2 separate regions of the Homo sapiens genome follow, and region 2 is linked to region 1. Evidence: promoter capture Hi-C in human tissues and cell types (Jung and others, 2019). All regions are on one chromosome and are shown on one strand. Each heading gives the region's core, a stretch centred on a gene start or on the middle of the fragment in contact. The rest is flanking DNA. Distances are from core to core; before and after follow the strand shown.

Region 1 (4,759 bases), core at 1,912-4,411:
AATATCCTTTCCAATTTTATACTTACCCCATGTAACTTTTTCAAAGTAACTGCTTTAACTTCATATAAAATGGTAATGCTTTACAAAACACCAGATACAAATTGTCAGGGAAAAAGACCACCAGACCTCATGAAGACATTTTCTGAAATGAACACAACCTTTTTAACAACTTGTTATAATTATGATGAAGTTTATACTTGCTTTCCTCCTCACATTCCTCTGGATTTCTAACAGTAGAATGAGGATCGTAAAGAAATACTGTGGGGTGACAAGGGGCCTGGGGCGGATTTCATACACACCCACGTACACAACTGGAGACAGCGGTGGGAGGTTTTCCCAGGAATGAAAATAATCACATAGTTTCTTACAAGTGAACAAAAAGTGTGAAGGGTATAGCTTAACACAAATTCTCTTCTATTTTTATGGTGGAACACTCAATCTTCACACTCAAGATTTTAGAGCTGAATATTAGGTTTTGCAAATCAATAGGATGGTCCAGTCATTAAATTTTCACACCCTTTTTGAATTTTTTGAATTGTTTCGGAGCCCTTGTTAGATTACGGTCCACAGCCAGCTGACTTAGACTTAGATGGAATTAAGTCCTAATGAGGTCAACTTTAATCCTGGATAAGCCACTCAGTTCTGAGGCTGCACCCTAGCCTACCACAGTCATCTTAAAATTTGGGTCAGTGGTTAAAAGCGGAATCATGTGTTTGGATGCTTAAGGGTCTATTTAGGAAAAGAGCTGGAAAATCGCATACCGTCCTCAGTCAAAGCCACCTCTTCACCCAGAAGCCTGTATATAATGTTCCAACATTGTCTCAATGCCACATCTCTAGAAGGTAACCTCAAACTGTATGTTGGATAGGTTTCATTTTCCACTAAGTAACTATCACTTATTTTGAACTCTGCCTTAATTTGAAAGTTCAGACAGCTTTTTAGTAAAAACAAGCACCTTTTTCCAGGTACCACCTGCCAGTCATGGCCTCATTTACACTTCACAACATTAAGAAGCAAATTGGAGCTGGCCGGTTAATTTGTTCATGATCACATAGCCAGTTTGTGAGGAGGGGGCTGCATTCAAACCCAGGACTGTATGGCAAAAGGCCTGTGTTTTTAATACCACACCAGTGCAGCTTTTAAAAATACTCAAGACAGCAACGTTCTTTACCACACAACACACCGGTAACCTTTTGACGATGGGGTAACCCTATCTATACCTATTGCCACTGGTAGGATCCATGTGAATAGCTGTGGGGTCTGATATTTATTACCATCTTTGTCTGGTAATCTAACACTCCCTCGCACTGAAAACCATCGATATGATCAGTCATGATGTCACCAAAAACACCGACAACAAAGCTCTTCGCCAAACCAAATCCTATCATTTTCACCCAGATTCTACAATCTGGTCAAATCCAATTTTTCAAAGTAAAAGTGTAGAATCATTTTTAGAACGCTGCACTCGATGATACTGTGCACATTGTCTGCTGTAATTAATCCTTAATATAATTCACTACTCTGTGGTAACTAGCAACAGTCCATAACAACCTGGCTGCTCCTTACAATGCGAACTGCCAGGGCACATGAAGAACACTTGCTGAGTGGCGACAGGCATGGGAAGGTCTCAGAACTGACACCTGAGTTGTGATTGTGGCTGTGTCAACACAAGCATGAAGCTATGGTAGTGGGGTTTTGGGAGGCGACATACGGAAGATCACATTCCAACTTGGATGTCACTTCTTTAGGGTAATATGGACAAAGTAATTCATTGTGGAAGATGAGTGGGGAAAAGGACCCAAAGCCACATCTCCTTTGGGCAGAATGATCAAACAAACACACAAACAGATTTCTCACCTTGAAAACCAGAACTCTTACAAGCAATGCAAAGGGACTTTTTTCAAATACAGATGGTCTCCGACTTCGGATGGTTCGACTTCAGGTTTAACGATGTGTTTACTGGGATGCGACCCCACCGTAAGCCGGGGAGCACCTATACTTGAAAGGCTGTCACATGTACACTATTAATGGGCCTAACAAAAGCCAGACCAGTGGTACATGTTGGAGACAATGCCTACTAAATACACAGAGAAGCTTTCTAACAAATGAAGTTGCAATGAATGAAAGGAGCTCTTGATAAGCCCAGCCAAGTTCCACTGGAGGTACGAGCTGGGGTGGCGCAGGGAGCAAGGCCCTGGATCGGTCACCTCTGAGGTCTCCTCTCATCACCTGAGTGTAGGGCTCTATTTCCCCCAAGCGTGGCCACAACAATTTCTGAGTTGCTTATAGGCACCTCAACTTCACTCATTCTTGAATGACAGTCTATCAAACGCCCAGATAGGAGCTGTTTAGCCATTCCCTTGAGAAGAAAAATGAAAACTATTCTAGTCACACGAGTAAAGAGGGGGTGGATAAAGAGGGCGTGGATATTTAGGTGACTTATTTGAGGTGCAACGCTGGAGCAAACATTCATTTAGGAGACACGTCCCTCTCACAAAAACAAAACAAAGGCCCGAAGCTCAGGCAAGTTCTCCTTCCTCCAACTAACAAAGATCTCTTTCCATGCGTGAATTGAAGTCCCAGTGCTCTGCTCCAATTCTTACTATCTCCAAGGCACGGGGCGGGGGGGCGCAATTATTTTTTTAAAAAATCCTGTCATCTTCTGAAAGGGTCCAAGGCAGACTTTGTTCTAAACCTTAGCTCTTGGCTTGCCTTGGAACTGCAAACGTTTCCCACTTGGGAAGTCAAAGACAAGCTGCAGGTCTGGACTAACCAGACCCAAGAGTGTGAGTGAGCAACGGGCACCGGGAGAGACCGACGGGAAACCGCGAGCGCTCGGAGAGAGAAACGCGGGACGCCCTGGAGGCCGCTGGGGGGAGGTGAGGGTGCCCGAGGTGGGGAGGAGCGACGCCCCCAGAGGAGAGCTCCGGGCGCAGGGGTGCCGGGGGTGGGGAAGGAGGAGGGAAGGGGCCGAGGGGACACACCACCCGCTCGCCGCAGGCCGGACCGAGGGGCGGCGGCGGCGGCGGCGGCTCTACCTCCAGGCTCGGCCGGCCGACGGGTTCGGACCGCCTGGGCTGCCACCTGCAGCTCCTCGGGCGCGTCCCTCGTGTGTCCGCGGCCGAGCAGCGCCGCTCCAACCTCGGCCGCCGTAAACATCCGCCGCCGCCGCCGCCGCCGCCGCCTCTGCGCCTGCGCACAACGGCCTGACTGCGCATGCGCCGCGGGCCTGGCACTTAAAGGGGTGATGGCGGCGCAGGGCGGGCCCCACTCCCCTGGGCTGCCTGCGTCCGCCCGCCCCGCTGAGAGCTCGCTGAGCCCTAGGCCGGGTCCGAGTCTCGCGGGCGCGCCGTCCGCGCAGTGCTCAGCCAGGACGGACCCCGCACGGGCTGCCTCAGAAGCCCTCCCTAAGGGTCACCTGAGACGCCTTTGCTGACCCACGGCTGGGGGCGTTCCGCATCTCCAGGGTGCCCTGCGGCTGCTGACTCGGGGCCGGCGCTGCCCTCGGGCGGCCTCCCAGCACCAAGCACAGCCGCCCTGGGACCCCCGCCCTGCCACGCGGACGGCCACCCGGCCCTGGGGCCCTCCTACCCAGCCGGCTTTGTGAAATCAGCTGTGAAAGGAAGATATCCTGGGCCCCCAAGATCACTAAGGAAAACTCCAGCAGGAAACTGCTTAGGGCAGGCCTGCTTCCCATTCCATTCAAAGTCACTCCTCTGCTCACTTAGATAGATACATATCTGATTTGCCTCCTTTGAAAAGGCAAATGAGAAACTCAAAAGAATTTAACCGTTGGTGTCTCACCTATCTGTGGCCTGGACGCTCCCTCCCCGCTTGGAGTCTTCCTGCCTTTGCTTCAAGTTGTCCCGTCTTTCCAGACCGAACCGATGTGCTTCTTACATGTATCGATGGATGTATCCTGTCTCCCTAAATGTATAAAACCAAGCTGTGCCCCGACCACCTTGGGCACATGTCAGGACTTCCTGAGGCTGTGTCACGGGCGCGTCCTCACCCTTGGCAAAATAAACTTTGTAAATTAACTGAGACCTGTCTCCCATTTTCTGGGTTCACACAGCCCATTGCCCAAACTTCGCGTGGGGCTTTGCAGATAGGCTGTAGCTGCAGAACCCTTTCTTCAAGCACAGCCATGCAAGCCGCCTCATATGTGCAAGTGCCAGCGTCGCTGGGGCGGACGAGTGGGCCTGGGTCTCCGGTTCCCGCCTCCCTCCTAACTCGGCATTCCTCCCCAGACCCTGGAGCTCCACTTAGGAGCAGAGTTTGAAAACCAAAGGCCGGTGCCTTCACCACGTTATGTGGTCCCAGGGAGACCTCACTTCTCTTGTTGATCCATGGTCCTGGATCCACGGACCTGAGGTGGCCCACCACCTCATGACCTTCATGGGGCTCTCAGTGTCCTTCCACCTGAGAGCTTGTGGTTATTTGTGACTGTTTCAAATTACAGAAGCCCTGGAGTCATCCTTGACTCTCTTCCTACTGCCAGGGGACACGTCCTCCATACATCCCTCCTTGCCCTGTCCCAGCTCCCCTCACCTCTCCCCACCCCTCCCACCATTCCCCTGGGCTCTGGCGAGTGGTCCTCCTAAAACAGGTGATCACATCACTGCTGTCTTCAGACACTCCCTTTGTTCCTGGACCCAACTGAGGGTCGGGCTACTACTTCTCCTGGCCCAATAACAAGATGCAAATGAGCTGGAGAGTAAGAGAGGTTTTATTTCTGTAACCGGTTACAAGGAGAAGG
Region 2 (4,479 bases), core at 1,012-3,511, 95 kb after region 1:
ATTATGCAAGAGCACAATACCCCAACTTAATTAGCGCTAAAGGGCTCGGGCCACCAAAAGTGTGACTGAGGCAGAACTGAACACAGCTTTCTCTAAGAGAGCATGTTTTGAAAATCTTAGTGGCTTATTTTTAACATACAGTTTGTGCTTTACACGTTACATACAAACCAAAAGCTTCACCCCAAAGGCAAGTATCTTAGATTCTTATACGCACACATTATCCTCAACAAATAAAACACAAAATGCACACAGAGCAATTGTTCAGATTGAGCACAAGGACATAAATGCAAGCCTGCACTGGTCAAACTGAGGATGAAATATTAATTAGTCAAATGAGAACAGTTCGAGGTTTCCACAATGACTGCCTACCATTTTTAATTTCTGTCATAAACTTATATCCATTAGTATAAAAGGACACATTCAGCTGAGAGCACTCCTGAAAAGCCGTTTCTGTCTCCTCTGGACATGCTGTGAGTGCTAGGATGTCTTACACCCCAAACCTTCGGCATTCAGAAATTCTATTAAACTCTTATCGGCAGGCTGCAGGCTCCGGGCAGGCTTGCGGGCCATTGTTCCATGATGAATACAGAATCAAAGGGAGGGCCGTTGCTGAATCAGCCTTATTTCCCAACGACACCCAAGGTTTCATGAAAGCGACTTAATTCAGATATGCAACAGTCACACCTAAGAAACCACAGCGAAGCGGAGGTGGCAGCAGGAGAGATGAACCTGCGCAACACGGGCTTCGTGGGGCACAACAGTTTTTTCAGGTAATAGAAATTGTATTTGTGAAAACGTAAGTCTTTCGGCATTTCTCACTTCCCCTTTTGAACAATCACAGGCCTCCTGAGGTGTGGCGCTCCGGGGGTCGGGAATGGGCCCCCAGACCCTCTGTGGCGCTGCCAGGAGGAGCATTCAGAATGTGCCTGGAAACTTGAAATCGGTGCCTGCTGGCAGGACCTAGGGCGCCCTGGGAGCTCCCACCGGGAGGTTAAAGTGCTATGAGCAGTTTCCGAAGATGAGCTTTGATGAGTAAAGGTTCGAAGTCTTTAGCTGACCCCGTCAAGACAAAGGAGTCCAGGGAAAAGAGCAGGACAGAAGAGCGGCCGCCGGCACGTCTCTCCGGTTCGGCTGCCGCCCTTCAGCCCCTGGGAGGCGGCCTGAGCGGTGGGTGGATCCGAAGTCTGATCAGCACTTCGGACAGCGCTCTCCCCCCAGAGCGCCTCAGTCTTTGTTCTCCGCACACGGAAGCTTCTGAGCTCGCACCAGTATTCAGCTATCGCTGAACTCTGGGCTCCGGGCTGAGACAGAGAATTCCAAACCCCAACAGATCCCTGCTTGTAAGTGACAACAGCAAGGTATAGTCTTAAGCTTCCTTTCTTAGAGAGGGTGAAAATTTGTCAGGACTTTTTGAAATCATAAAATATTTTCTCTTCCATAACTGAGCATGTTGCACGCTGTTCCTTTGGGTTTTATTTCATAAAAGTCTGTGGGAAAGTCACATGTGACTTTTTAATAATATGTTTGGAAAGATCCACCAGGAAATAACTCCTGTCTGACTGGCGGGTCCTCAGACTCCACACGGGGAGGGAAACGGGAGATTTGCAAAACCAAACTTACGCCGCAGCCGCACTCGCTGAGAAAGCGCTTTGTGTGAGTGGGGGAGCAGGCTTAATGATCGCTTAGCTGGTAAGATCATTTCAAATAAAGTGTAATTACTTGTGCAAATCTGCACACAGACATTCCAAGTGTCAGTTCATTTGCTTCATAAAAACTCTTTCAAGTAATTTTGGTCTAAACTTTCTGCATCTGTAATTGGCACCACCTTCTCCGGTGACCAGCTGGGGGTGAGGGTTTTCTTGTTTCCTTCTGAAAGCTTCCCCGCAGATGGGCGCCTGCCTTAATGCTGCAGACGACAATTAGGGCCGTTGTGTGAGGCCGAGATGGTGAGCATTAATATTGTATAGAACAGCTGAGGGCGGGGGTGCTGCCCCAGGCCGGCCCTGGCAGATGGAGCAAACAAAACCGGGATCCACTCTCCGCCACACTCGGGGCTGACTTTGTGTTTCTGTCTCACACTCACGCAGACGCTCACAAACATTTGGCATCCAGTTTGTGAGACCCTCACATACATATGCACACTCACACACGTGCACTCACACACACAGCAACTTTGAGTGTGATGAGGACGCAAGCAGCAGCGGCCCTGGCCAAAGCCCCTTAGCTACAGTTAAGTCCCAGGGGACATCTGTCGCGCGCACGCGCGCGCGCACACACATTCTCTCTGCCACCTTCTCACAGAGTCTCACAGAGCCTTGCTCCAGGCCAAGGGCTCCTGACACCCACCAGCTATATGGCCTGCCAGGCAGATCCAGGCAGGTAAATCAACAGAAAGAAGGCCCAGCTGGCCTCTGCACACACCCTGCCCACCGCCCTCCCACCTCCAACCTTCTGCAGGGCAGCGTTCACAGGGCTCTGTGCCGTCAGCACTTCTGCAAGCCACGGGATCCGCTAGAAGGGGAGGTGGCTGTTTCCCCAGGGGCCCTGGCCATTGTTCAGGAGGGAGCATGTCTGTCACCTCCTTGGCTGCCCAGAAAAGAGCACTGAGCTCTGAGGGGGGGACACACACAGCTAATTAGTCCCTTTGGCATCTTCGCAGAAACTTGTGAACAGACCAGGGAGGGACGCGAGGGGCTGGGGGTGGTACGCACCCAGGAAGGTCCCGCAGAGCGTCATCCTGGCCAGGGGGTGCACCTTCTCTCTGGGAACACACGTCACTTCATGCTGGAAAAAGTTGCTGCACAAACTTGTGTCCCAGGGCCCTGGGGAGACCCCACTGCATCCAGCCAATCAAGACCAGGGAGCAGATAATCACAAATTGATGCCCCGGCTGCCTGCCAATGAGGCTCTCTTCTCCACACAATGGGCTCAGGCCCCAGACAATCTCTCCCCCACCCCGCAGGGCCAGGGAAGGGGAGTGAGGGGAGGCAGAGACACAGCCCTTCCCACACAGTAATGGACTCACAGTGAGTGAGGGGAGGGGGCCCTTCCTGAAGATGCATCCCTTCCCCCGCTTCCTCTCTCGGAACTGCCACACTAGGTCCAGCCTGAAACCTGGTGGGGAACCAGCCAGGATGCATGAGTGGGGTCAGGTCTCGCTCCCTACAACCCAATCACTGCCTGTTGAGACAAGGCCCCTGAGGGCCCTCAGCTGGTGTGGTTGACTCCCCACCACCAGATCCCAGGCACAAGGTATGGTGGGAGGTGCCAGGGGGAGGCAAACTGTAGAAGTCAAGAATCCCTCGACAACCTCAGGCCCTGCAGGCAGAGGGTGGGGTGTGCAGGAAGGAAAGGGCAGGGAGAGAGGGCTGCCCAGAAGGACCTGGACCTTCCAGCAGCTACAGCCGCGCCAGGGCCAGGGAGGGGCAGGGTGTGTGGATGGGAGTGAAGGTGGGCACTGCAGAGGCCTCTTCCAGAATGATTCCTAGTCCCTCGAACTGGGCCCACGACCTTTCACTGCCCACAGGGGCCCTTTGAAACGATGAACTTGGCCTCACCATGGAGCCCGGCTGTCCTCTGGGCCAGCTTCCCCTGATGCCGAGGGAAGCTCCCATCACCCCAGGCAGCTCAGGGTCACCTCCTGGTCCTCAGGTTCTGCAGGTGTCTGTCCCTGCAGGGGACAGGTGGAGGCCCAGGTGATGCTGGCTTACCTCTACCAACACGTGGCCAAGTCCAGGCTAGTCTCTCCCATCCAGGGCAGCACTGAGGGGGAGGCCCGGAGTATGGAGGGTTCAAACCTTTGGAGGAGGCAGATCTGGACTGACCCCTGACCGGCCCCTCCCAGCTGGGTGACCAAGAGCAAAATGTTTAACATTTACATCTTCAGTGAGGTCTATGGTGAGTGCTACTGGGCGGCAATAGACGGTAAAGGGTGTCCCAAGAGAAGTGACGAATTGCATTCGAGTTGGGACACCCCCTCAGGAATGAATCGGGTTGCTGAGGGTCTGGATGTGGTAGGGACAGAGAGGCCACAGGAGACTCCAGGGCTGGCCAGAGCCATGAGGTGGGCGGCAGCACCCCCTGAGAGGGAGACGCTGAAGGAGGGCAGATTTGTGGGAGTTGCTGGCTCTGCTGGGATGTCTGAGCGCCTGTTAGTCACCAGGTGACACCGTCAACAAGGGTGACAGTATGGAGGCTGAGGCTGGGGGCAGAGATTAGGCTGGAAATAAATGGTGAGTCATCTTGTTTAGAGGAGAGAACATCGAGGGGTGAAGGTGCTCAGAGGCTGGTGAGCGTGCAGGAGAAGCAGGAGGAAGCAGGTGGGTGCAGGGGGGACAAGTGGGAGGCCAAGAGGGGCAGGTAGGGGTGGGGAGACAGGTGGGGCAGGTGGAGGTAGGAGGGGGGAGGGGGGACATGTGGGGGGCAAAAGAGGGGCAGGTTGGAGGCAGGGGAGACAGGTAGGACAGGTGGGGCCAGGAG

Evidence for each region. The method cuts DNA at HindIII sites, captures the fragments that hold promoters and counts their contacts. A contact is called where the count stands out against the background at its distance.
Region 2: a contact is called between a fragment that was not itself captured here and the fragment with the promoter of PCMTD2 in region 1, in 9 of the 25 tissues and cell types used here (H1 embryonic stem cells, IMR-90 fibroblasts, dorsolateral prefrontal cortex and 6 more).

Annotation. Positions count from the first base shown.
Region 1 is chr20:64,254,150-64,258,908 of GRCh38, reverse strand. It overlaps PCMTD2 (protein-L-isoaspartate (D-aspartate) O-methyltransferase domain containing 2), which reads right to left and starts at 3,161. Exons shown (of 6, transcript NM_018257.3): 1 at 3,039-3,161. The HindIII fragment of the contact is 11,329 bases long and covers 1-4,759 here.
Region 2 is chr20:64,158,787-64,163,265 of GRCh38, reverse strand. No RefSeq gene overlaps it. Among named protein-coding and RNA genes, the nearest start is that of MYT1, 3.4 kb to the left of the region's middle. RefSeq lists enhancers at 456-1,936, 3,847-4,479. The HindIII fragment of the contact is 3,096 bases long and covers 714-3,809 here.